Regions from separate parts of the Homo sapiens genome. Here region 2 is linked to region 1. The links are contacts of gene promoters, found by promoter capture Hi-C in blood cells and fetal thymus (Javierre and others, 2016). All regions are on one chromosome and are shown on one strand. Each heading gives the region's core, a stretch centred on a gene start or on the middle of the fragment in contact. The rest is flanking DNA. Distances are from core to core; before and after follow the strand shown. Region 1 holds the start of LHX4-AS1 (LHX4 antisense RNA 1). Region 2 overlaps ACBD6 (acyl-CoA binding domain containing 6).

What was found. The method cuts DNA at HindIII sites, captures the fragments that hold promoters and counts their contacts. A CHiCAGO score of 5 or more calls a contact.
Region 2: a contact is called between a fragment that was not itself captured here and the fragment with the promoter of LHX4-AS1 in region 1, in 5 of 17 cell types (M1 macrophages, neutrophils, M2 macrophages and 2 more). The highest score is 6.6, in M1 macrophages.

What each region holds. Positions count from the first base shown.
Region 1 is chr1:180,272,053-180,277,464 of GRCh38, reverse strand. LHX4-AS1 (LHX4 antisense RNA 1) reads left to right here and starts at 2,784. Exons shown (of 5, transcript NR_037642.1): 1 at 2,784-2,814; 2 at 3,353-3,528; 3 at 4,067-4,127; 4 at 4,773-4,852. LHX4 (LIM homeobox 4) reads right to left here. Exons shown (of 6, transcript NM_033343.4): 6 at 1-3,280. The coding sequence ends at 2,886. It also overlaps a transcript of ACBD6 not described here. RefSeq lists an enhancer at 5,024-5,412. The HindIII fragment of the contact is 1,811 bases long and covers 1,857-3,667 here.
Region 2 is chr1:180,383,741-180,389,543 of GRCh38, reverse strand. The region is part of intron 6 of ACBD6 (acyl-CoA binding domain containing 6); the gene reads left to right. Among named protein-coding and RNA genes, the nearest start is that of MIR3121, 52 kb to the left of the region's middle. RefSeq lists enhancers at 2,095-2,154, 2,266-2,345. The HindIII fragment of the contact is 1,036 bases long and covers 2,135-3,170 here.

The DNA.
Region 1 (5,412 bases), core at 1,535-4,034:
TACTCTAAAGTCGACCAGCCAGGCACTGCAGATAATGGTTGCCTCTAGAAGGTCTCATTTCATTTTTAAAATTCATCCATGTCATTTTAGCAAGGGGGGAAACAGCTACCATGTAGCACCTTATACCCCATAATAGACTTCCAAGCAACAGAGGAGTGCCTCTAAGAGAAGCTAAAAGTAATGAATGCCCGGCTTTTCTCCATTTCCAAACCCCAGAAGAGTCCTGTCATGCAATGGCTCATTAGTGGCACCAGCCCACCCATAATGCTAACCCAACCTGTAGGGAGATCCATTTAAAATCTTAGACCTACTGTGGCTGTGCTTCTAAACAGGCAGCAGTGTTTGCTGCTTTCTGGGGAGGTGGCTCTGGAAAACAAAGCTCTCCTGGTTTTCAGGCCAGTGCTCTCAAGGGTTTTTCCAGCTAACCAGCCCTACTGATGCCAAAGAACTATTGACCTCGTCAACTGCTCACTGAGTTCCTCAAGAGATTTATTATATTATTAGTATAAATGAGGAAGGCCTCTCCTTCCACTATTGAACTGGGAATTAGTATGATTAACTTACAAAAACTGGTCAACTTACTTACAGTGATCTTAAACAGTGCTACACAGAGGAGGATGCCCCCCCCCCTTTTAAAAAGCCTGCTCTCCCCCACACTATACTCACCAAAAACTTCAAGGGCCTCTGAAATCCCATGAGTTGCTAAGCCAAATAGTCAACCTGCAACAGTGATCTGGGTGGGCAGCTTTTCATCTGGTTCATTGCCCAGCAGAGCCTTTTCTCCTGTGTATTTTAAGCAGCCTGCTAAGAAGGGTGTATTTAAAAAGCCATCCTCCAAAAAGACGACTGCATTTTCCTTTCCTCACATGGCATTTGTGTCTTCCTCCCCACCCCAGTGTTCATGATTGGAGAATTCCCAATAGCACAGAATTGGCTAGGATTAACACAACATCATCCATAAACATGGAACCTCAAGAGAAGTGTCTATGTTTGCAGACTTCTCAAGCAAAAATCATGACCACTGCAGCACACCAAAAAACGAGGGTACGCTATAAAATTGGTCAGAGAAGAGGGCCCGAAGGCTGATCCCGGAATTTACTGTTTTAAAGAACTTACTTAATTGAACTTAGTTTAGTCCTGGAAAAGGGCTTACAAAAGATGTAGCAGTCCAAGAGGAACTGTGTATTCTTCCTTTAGTCTGCCTATGACATGCCTAAGTCTTTGCAGTCCTCAAAAGGTGACCAACCATTCGTAGAAGGAAGGGTCCTTAGGGTCTCTGGCCCCATCACTTCATGTGATAGGCAATGCCTTCTCACCCTTTCCTACTCTGCTGATCTCATTTAAGAGAATGGGAGGCCAGAAGAAGCAAACACAGCTTCCCAGAGGGACAGGAATAAATTCCAGCTGGCTAAATTCCAGTTTGCACATGGAGAGCTTCCTGATGGTAGATGGGTGCACAAGGTGGGTGGGAGCTGCAGCACCATTCAGGACAGCGTTTCCCACAGCAGTGCAGTCTGTCGCAGGAGTGGCAACTCGTAAAGCGGGGGTTGGCCTTGCTCTGGCCTCAGGCTTAGTGATTTGCTACTGCAAACCTGCACAACGGGGAGTCCCTGCACCACCACTGGCCAGAGAGTTCTGGCTTTCTGACCATGGGACTGCAGCCCAAGGCATGGCAGGTGTCCAGCCAGCAATCCAGAGAGATGCAGCCCAAGAACCACTTAGAACCCTTTGGACAATTTTAGGGCTGCTCCCTAAATTACTCTTCCCAACCAAGGTAGGCCAAAAAAAAATTGCTGGTTCCTGGAAATGACCAAAACTGTCCTCCAATTGAGTCAGCTAGGACAGCAGAGAAAGCTTTCAGAGGGGTAGACTTGCAAGCTCATCTAAACCAACTCCTTCAAAACAGACTCCAAATATTTCACCCTACAAGGGATGGGGAACTCTGGAAGACTGGCATCAGCCGATATGGCTGAACAGACTGCAGGTTTGGAATCCAAATGTGTCTACAAATGTTCACTGATTGATTGTCATTTTGTTCTCCCCACATTTTAGTTTTGCTCATTTTACAGCCCACAGCCTGTCTTGTGGAATAAATGATACAAGCAATTGAAGAAGGCACACTGTGCACCAAGGGGACGACTCAGGCAATCTGCAGCGGTGGTCCAGGGCTACTCAGCTCAGCCTCAGTCACCTGCAATGAAAACCACCTCTTGCCATCAGAGTCAATGATATAGATGGGACACTTAAAAACCAAAACAGGTTCATATTCTCTGGTTTGTAGGAAAGAATTCATATCTTCACAGCAAAAATAAAAAAGGAGGGGGCATGTTTTTAATATCAAACTGGCCATCAAAGTGTTCACTGACCTTTAATAACTGATCTTTTCATTTTGAAATATAGGGTTCAATAAGGATGGTCCAGAAATCACTTTTATTTTACTCAAGGGCTGTGAGGCCTCTACCTTAGGAGTCTCAGTTCTGGTGAGAGCAGTGTTTTGGGAGGCATTGTGTGAGACACACCAGTTGGAGCAAAGTTCCCAAAGGCCAAGGGGGCCTATCACAGTCACCTTGTGCTACCAAAGCACTGAGCAGCCAAGCCCCTAAGCAGAACAGCAGGGGAGAGACCCAACAAGCCAGTGTCCCTAGAGCTCTAGGCCATTACCCCCTGTGCTGTGTTCTGAGATGAGTCTGCTCTCCCACTGCTTCCCCAGGGAAACAATGCCCTAGTGTGGTCTCACAGCCTTCTAGGAATCAGCGGAGGACTTCCATTGAAAATAATGGAAATTCACATTGGCGTACTTTCGATCCTTAAAAGGCAAGTCTCTTTTGATCCTTGAAGATATTCTCTCAAGCCAGGGGGGCAGGTAGGGTGGGGAGGAGAGAAGTTTAAAAAGGAGGATGATCCATTTCATCGAGCCAAGAGCCTGGGCTAGTTGGAAAGTCGGGATAGCCTACACTGCTTCCTGTGGAGATGTCAGAGGTGGGTCCCCCAGCCATGGCTCTCAGCGTCTGGCTTACTCCCTGCCCTGCATGCGCAATGATGCCCAAATTACTGTCCACCGTGTAATCCAGCCCATTGAGCAAAGGAGCGTGGGATGGCAGGGACGATATGGAGGATGGAGACTGGGGGATTCCATAGGGGCTCCCATCCCTCAAGTCCTGATAGGATTGTCCTGTCCCGTCCATGGAGAAGCTCCCATTCATTAACTGTCCGCCTGTAACGTCCCCCACGTTGCCATAAATCCTATTGGTGTGGCCAAGTTCTGAGAGAATTTGATCCTCTGTGGACAAAAGAACGGAGATTTATTGTCAGCTGCCAGGACTCTGATGGTCCCCTGCTCTTCACAACCTAGGAACACACATGACCAGGAAAGATGCCCAAGGATGGCAGCTGCCTTGCAGCCAAGCATGGGTCAGACACACCAATATGGCAGCCTGATATCCAGAGGCCAACCCAGGCCAAGGAGAAAAACAAGAAACACCTGCAAAGACTAAATTCCCAGGTCCCAGAAGGATGGACAAATGTTTGGTGAGCTCGTTGGTCCCTTGTGGCTCGTGTACTAATACTCTGGCTACACTGAGGAGGATGAATGCCTAAGGCTGGGTGGGTCAGATGTCTCCACATCACAAATGGAAACTACATGCTGACAACATTTACCCTGAAAGCTTTCAAGCTGAGAAAGGGCTTGGTTTAGTTGATTGGGAAGCAAGCAGGCCCATATGGTCAGGGAAGCTGAGGACCACTCTTAGACATCTGTACAAAATCCTTCTGGTCTATCTGGAAGAGAGGTTCAATATCAAAGGACTTGGTTTCTGTCTGTATTCAATAAGCTCTTCACTGGGGACAAAGAATTGACTTGATTAAGGCAAATGAACCTTCTTTTTTCTTAAAGAATTTCATTAAGGGGATCTAATGGAATCTTTGCCACTTGAAAGAATTTCTCTCTCCAACAGAGGTGAGCAGTTTTAGTCTTTGAGAAATTATTCCCAGAGAAACCAATGATAGGTCAGCCCAGGGACCCACCTGCACCCAACAGAAATGAGCTTAACAATCCAGTATGTTCTAGGTGTTGACTTCAACAGCCCAGATGAGATTGACTTTCCCAATCCTGCCAAGAAGCCTAAAAGGTGAGTATTAGTCCCATGAGCTGTCCCCAAGGCCTCACGGGCCCTGTGTTCTCAGAGGAGGCTGCCCTCTAGGGCTCAGCTGACCTCTGGGCTGAACTAGAGTCCTCCCAGGGCATCGTTGTCCTGGCAGGCAACTTGTTCCATCCTCTGTCCCACAAACTTCCTTTTCTATTTCCACCTGGGCCTCTGCACCAATCCCTAAATAAGGCCTCCCCAGACTAGACTTCAACACCCCATCCCTTCTGAGGCCTGCCCCCCATTCCCCTTATGAAAAAACATGGTGGGGGGAGCTCATGCTCTTTAAAGGGAGCAGGAAGATGAAGGCTCCACTCCATTGTCAAATGGCCATGAGTTAGCCTTTTCCCTATACCTGTCATCCCAAATGACCAGGGCCCTCTGCGGGAGCCACACGCTCCCTGTGGGAACGATCATGCCTTCCAGGTATACAAATGTGCCAGGCTTTCCCCAAGCACATCCACAGTTGGTTGTGTTCATTGATCCCCACAACGCAGTGAGATGGGCAAAGATATGGTATTCCTCTTGGGAATACTGGGGCTCAAGAGAAGTGAATCGATTTGACAGAGCTGCACTGGAAACCAGGTCTCTGATCGCCAGTTGAGTACTCTTCCCTTTCCCCCTCCGCAGAAGACCTTCCACATTTGAGAACTCAGTACCTGAGAACAGTTATGATTCTTTGCAAACAACCTGAGGATTCATAACATGCAGTAATTTACAATTTTGCTGATGCATGAATTTGAATATAGTGCATGCTGCAAAGCTTGTGTGCAGGGGACAGAATGAAGTGAGTGGTGGGGAAAGGGATTTCGGAAGTGAAGCCAGTTCCCCATCTCACATGCACTCACAGTACTGATTTCCCAGGAAAAAACCTGTGGAGCATGACCTCCCCACCACCAGGACTGGAGGAAGGGGTGGCTCTAGGGGACTATGGGAGTAGGCCAGTGTCCCAGCAAAGGGGACAAAGATGGGAGAGGGGCTAGGGGCACAAGGCTGGAACCCAGTCATCTGTTCATAGCTGTGTGGGCTGATGAGGGAGGCCCCAGTCAGCAGGAGGGGAGGGGAGACCTTGGGGCCACAGGACGGGGCCTGGCCCATCCCAGCTTCCAGACCTCAGCAATCTTGTTTCCTACTCCTGTCCCATGGTAAAGGGCCACTACCATTTCCCCCACCCTTCACTGCAAGTCTTAAGGAAAAGCCTGTGTTCAGGAGGGAGTTGCCAAGGCCTCAAGAAAGATCCCTCCTGAGTGCCAGGGATTACAGATTCCCA
Region 2 (5,803 bases), core at 1,403-3,902, 110 kb before region 1:
ACCATTTGACCCAGCCATCCCATTACTGGGTATATACCCAAAGGAGTATAAATCATGCTGCTATAAAGACACATGCACACGTATGTTTATTGCAGCACTATTCACAATAGCAAAGACTTGGAACCAACCCAAATGTCCAACAATGATAGACTGGATTAAGAAAATGTGGCACATATACACCCTGGAATACTATGCAGCCATAAAAAATGATGAATTCATGTTCTTTGTAGGGACATGGATGAAATTGGAAATCATCATTCTCAGTAAACTATCACAAGGACTAAAAACCAAACTCCGCATGTTCTCACTCATAGGTGGGAATTGAACAATGAGAACGCATGGACACAGGAAGGGGACATCACACTCTGGGGCCTGTTGTGGGCGGGGGAGCGGGAAGGGATAACATTAGGAGATATACCTAATGCTAAATGACGAGTCAATGGGTGCAGCACACCAACATGGCACATGTATACATATGAAACTAACCTGCACGTTGTGCACATGTACCCTAAAACTTAAAGTATAATAATAAAAAAAAATTGCATTGAATCTATAGATCAGCTTGGGGAATAGTACCATCTTAAAATATTAAGTCCATGAATACATGATGCCTTCCCATTTATTTAGGTCTTATTTAATTTCTTTCATTTGATGTTTTATAGTTTTCAGTGTACAAGTCTTACACTTCTTTTGTTAAATTTATTACTAAGTATTTTATGTTTTTAATGTTATAAATGAAATTGTTTTCTTCATTTCCTTTTCTGATTGTTCATTTTTAATGTATAGAGATACAATTAATTTTTGGCCAGGCATGATGGGTCACACCTGTAATCCCAGCACTTTGGAAGGCCAAGGCAGGAGGATCACTTGAGGCCAGGAGTTTGAGACTGGCCTGGGCAACATAGTGACTCTGTATTGCTACAAAAATTAAAAAAAAAAAAATTGATCTGTGTTTATTGATCTGTATCCTGCATTCTTTCTGAATGCTTCTATTAGTTCTGACAGTTTGTTAGTGGATTCCTTATAATTTTTATATACAAGATTATATCATTGGCAAATAGAGATAGTTGTATTAGCTGCATAAAACCAGATGGGAAATACTCCTTTATTCTCTGAAAGAGTGCATTTAAGATTAGTATTAACTATTCTTTAATGCTTAGATGAGGGGTCTTCAGTTCCTGATAAGACTTATTTCTGCCTGTTCTTCCTATTCAGTTCAGATTTAAAACCCTGGACATACACAGCAAATAAACATAAGAAGACTAAAGGGTTAGAAGAAGAGAGCTGACTGACTAGGGACCTCAAGAATTGAGAAATGACCCTGTGGTGATTTCTCTGGGTTTTCTTTTTCTTTTTTTTTTTTTTTTTGAGACGGAGTCTCGCTCTGTCACCCAGGCTGGAGTGCCGTGGCGCGATCTTGGCTCACTGCAAGCTCCGCCTCCTGGGTTCACGCCATTCTCCTGCCTCAGCCTCCCGAGTAGCTGGGACTACAGGTGCCCACCATCACGCCCGGCTAATTTTTTTGTATTTTTAGTAGAGACGGGGTTTCATCATGTTAACCAGGATGGTCTCAATCTCCTGACCTTGTGATCTGCCCGCCTCGGCCTCCCAAAGTGGTGGGATTACAGGTGTGAGCCACCGTGCCCGGCTTCTCTGGGTTTTCTTTTTGTTTCTTTATAAGCTGAAGTGGGCTCTGGAGAAGCCCACAACCCAGAAATACCAATGGGTGCAGATAAGAAAAGCCTGTTATCTCTTGCCAAAGGACAGGAAAAGGGGCAATCTAAAAGAACAGAACTTTTCAACAACAATACCACCCTACCCCAGCCAAATACATGGAGGAAGAATATGCCACCCCCTTGCTTGGAGGCTGAAAGGGAAGCCTACACATCCTCTGGCTGGTGGTAGCAAGCAGTGCTTCTCTTCCCCATCAAGGTGTTATCAACAGATGCTGAATGAGTACCCTGAGCTTTCAGTTCCTGCCCAGTGGTAGCAGGGAGTGATTTCCTTTCCTCACCAGGGTGGTGCCAGAAGAGGCCAAATGGGAAGCCTAGACTTTCATCTCCTGCCCAGAGGTAGCAGATGATACTCCCCTTCTGTCGTAAGTGTGGTGTCAGTGGAGACCAAGTGGTAAGCTTGGATATCCATCACCTCCCACCCTGGAATTAAAAGCAATAATAAGGTAGTACTTCTCCCCTTCCCAAATAGGGAGTGATGGTGTGGGGGAGAATTTTAGAGAGGAGGGAGCTGGAGAAAGCAATGCTTTAAACTTGTATGTAGAGTCCTGGAAAGAACCCAGAGTGACTCGTACATTATACTGACCAAAATTAACATGACAGAAGGGTTGAGAACTGAACTACAGTGTGGAATAGTGCCTACATTTTCACATTGACCTCTAAGTAGCACACAAGCAAGGCAGACCCAAATAGTACTGTAAGGGCTCTGAAAATGAAATTATTATTGGAACTACAACTCCTAAAAGTAGATCAGGAGCTGCACAAGAAACCCAAATAGAGAAACTGCCTGCTAAACTAGAAGATTTAAATAGAATACAGATACGCATACTCAAAACTGAAAATTACTCATCATACCAAGAACCTGGGAAATCACAACTCGAATGGTAAAAGGAGGTCAATATACGCCAAACAGTGAGATGGTGAAATTATCTGACAAAGATTTTAGAGCAGTCATCATAAAAATGTTTCAATGAGTAGTTACAAACATTCTTGAAACAAGTGGAAAAAACAGAAAATCTCAGCAAAGGAATAAGAGATCTAAAAAGGAACTAAATAGAAATTATAGAATTGCAAATATAATAGCTGAAATAAAAATTCACTGGATGCACTCAATACTAGATGGAAATGATAAAAAGATCAGTGAACTTAAAGCAATAGAAAGTATATAATTTGAATAACAGAGAGAAGTAGATGGAAAAGAAATTAACAGAGGCTCCAGGACTGTGGGACAATTGTAAAAGATCTAACTTTTTTTGTCATCAGAGTGCTAGAAGGAGAGGAGAAAGAGTGTGGAACTACAAGAAATATTCGAAGAGTTACTGGCTGAAAACTTCCCAAATTTGATAAAAGGCATAAACCTATAGATTTGAGAAGCTGAGAGAACCATAGACAGATATACCTGACAAAATCCACAGCAAGACACATTAAAATCAAGCTTTGGAAAATTAATGAGAAAAAAACAACAACAACATTGAAAGCAGTTAGAAGGAAAAAGTACACTGCAGATGCTCCTCAACTTATGATGGGCTTACATCCTGATAAACCCATCATAAGTTGAAAATATCATAAGTTGAAAATACACTTAATACACCTAACTTATCTCATAGCTTAACTACTGAATGCGGTTTTTGTTTGTTTTTTGAGACAGTGTCTAGCTCTGTCGCCCAGGCTGGAGTGCAGTGGTGCAATCTTGGCTCACTGCAACCTCTGCCACTTGGGTTCAAGCTATTCTCCAACCTCAGCCTCTAGAGTAGCTGGGGCTACAGGTACGCACCACCATGCCTGGCTAATTTTTGTATTTTTAGTAGAGACAGGGTTTCACCATGTTGGCCAGGCTGGCCTCAAACTTCTGACCTCAAGTGGTCCACCCGCCTCGGCCTCCCAAAGTGCTGGGATTACAGGTGTGAGCCATTGCGCCCAGCCTTTTCTATCCTTTTACTTGTACCCTATGTGTATGTGTTAGTCTACTTGGTCCGCTGTAACAAAATACACAGACTGAATAGCATAAACAACAGACATTTATTCCCACAGTTCTGGAGGTTCTAAATCAAAGATAAAGGCGCCAACAGGGTTGATTTCTGGTGAGGCCTCTCAACTTGGCTTGTAGATAGCCACCATCTTGCTGGGTCCTCACGGGCCTTTCCTCTGTGCTCATATATGGAGAGATCTCTAGTGTCTCTCTCTCTTCTTGTAAGGGAACCAGCCCTATCACGTTAAGGCCCCACCTTTATAACCTAATTTGACCTTAATTAGCTCTTTAAAGGCCCTATTTCTAAATATAGTCATATTGAGTGTTAGGGCTTCAACATAGGAATTGGGTGTGGGGGAGCACAATTTAGTCCATAACACTGTATCTTTATATTTAAGGCATGTCTCTTATAAACAGTGTGTAGTTGGGTTTTGGTCTTTATCTAGTATGATAATCTTTGTCTTTTAATTGCAGTGTTTAATTCATTTACATTTAATGTAATTACTGGTATGGTTGTGTTTAAGTCTACCAGCTTGCTATTTGTTTTCTGTTTGTCCCATCTGCTCTGTTTCTCTATTTTTTTCTTTCCTGACTTCTTTTGTGTTTATAAGTATTTTGTTGCATGTATAGAATGTGTAATGATCAAGTCAGGGTATTTGGGGTATCCATAACCTGGAGAACATTTCAGGTTCTCTCTTCTAACTGCCTTGAAATATACAATGCGTTGTTGCTAACTGTAGTAAAAGCCCTACTCTGCTATGAAACATTATACCTTCTATCTAACTGTATGTTTATACCTATTGATCAAACTCTTTTCATCACTACCTCCCACCAGCACACTTTTTCCAGCCTCTGGTATCAGTCCTTCTACCCACTACCTTCATGAGATCAACTTTTTTAGCTCCTACATATGAATGAGAACATGTAAAATTCGTCTTTCTGTGTCTGGCTTATTTCACTTGACATAAGGGCCTCCAGTTCTATCCACATTGCTGCAAATGTCATGATTTCATTCTTCTTCATAGCTGACTAGTATTCCATTGTGTATGCATACCACATTTTCTTTATCCATTCATCTGTAGATGGACACTTCAGTTGATTCCATATCTTTGGTATTGTGAATAGTGCTACAGTGAACATCAAAGTGCAGGTGTACCTTTGATACACTTATTTCTTTTCCTTTAGATAAATACCCAGTAGTGCGATTGCTGAAGTGTATGTTAGTTCTGTTTTTAGTTTTTTATGAAATCTTCATACTGTTGCCCCATAGTGGCTGTACTAATTTACATTCTCACTAACCATGTATAAGAGTTTTTCTCTGCATCCTTGCCAGCATCTGTTAATTTTTAATCTTTTAATAATAACCATTCTAACTGGGATAAGATGGTATCTCGTGGTCTTGATTTACATTTCCCTGATGATTAGTGATGTTAAGCATTTCTTTCATGTAGCTGTTAGCTATTTGTTTGTCTACTTTTGAGAAATGTCTATTCACATCCTTTACTCATTTTTTAATAGGATTATTATTTTTTTAACTATTGAATGGTTTGAGTTTCTTGTATATTCTGGATATTAGTCCCTTGTCAGATAATTTGCAGATATTTCTTCACATTCTATAGGTTGACTCTTTACTCTTTTGATTGTTTGCTGTGCAGAAGCTTTGTAGTTTAATATAGTCTCATTTAGCTATTTTTGTTTTTTTTTTTTAATCTCTGCTTTCAAAGTCTTAGCCATAAAACCATTGTCTAGACCAAGTTCCCTATGTTTTCATCTAGTAGTTTTATAGTTGCAGGCCTTGTATTTAGGTATTTGATTCATCTTGAGTTGATTTTTATATATGGTGAGAGATGGGGATCCAGTTTATTCCCTTGCATATGGATATCCAGTTTTTCCAGCACCATTTATTGAAAAGGATGGCCTTCCCTCAATGTATATTCTTGGCATCTTTGTTGAGTATCAGTTGACTCTAAATACCTAGATTTACTTCTGGATTCCCTATTCTGTTCCACTGGTCTGTGTGTCTGTTTTTATACCAATACCATGCTTTCTTGGTTACTATAGCATTATAATATATTTTGAAGTCAGACAGTGTGATGCCTCC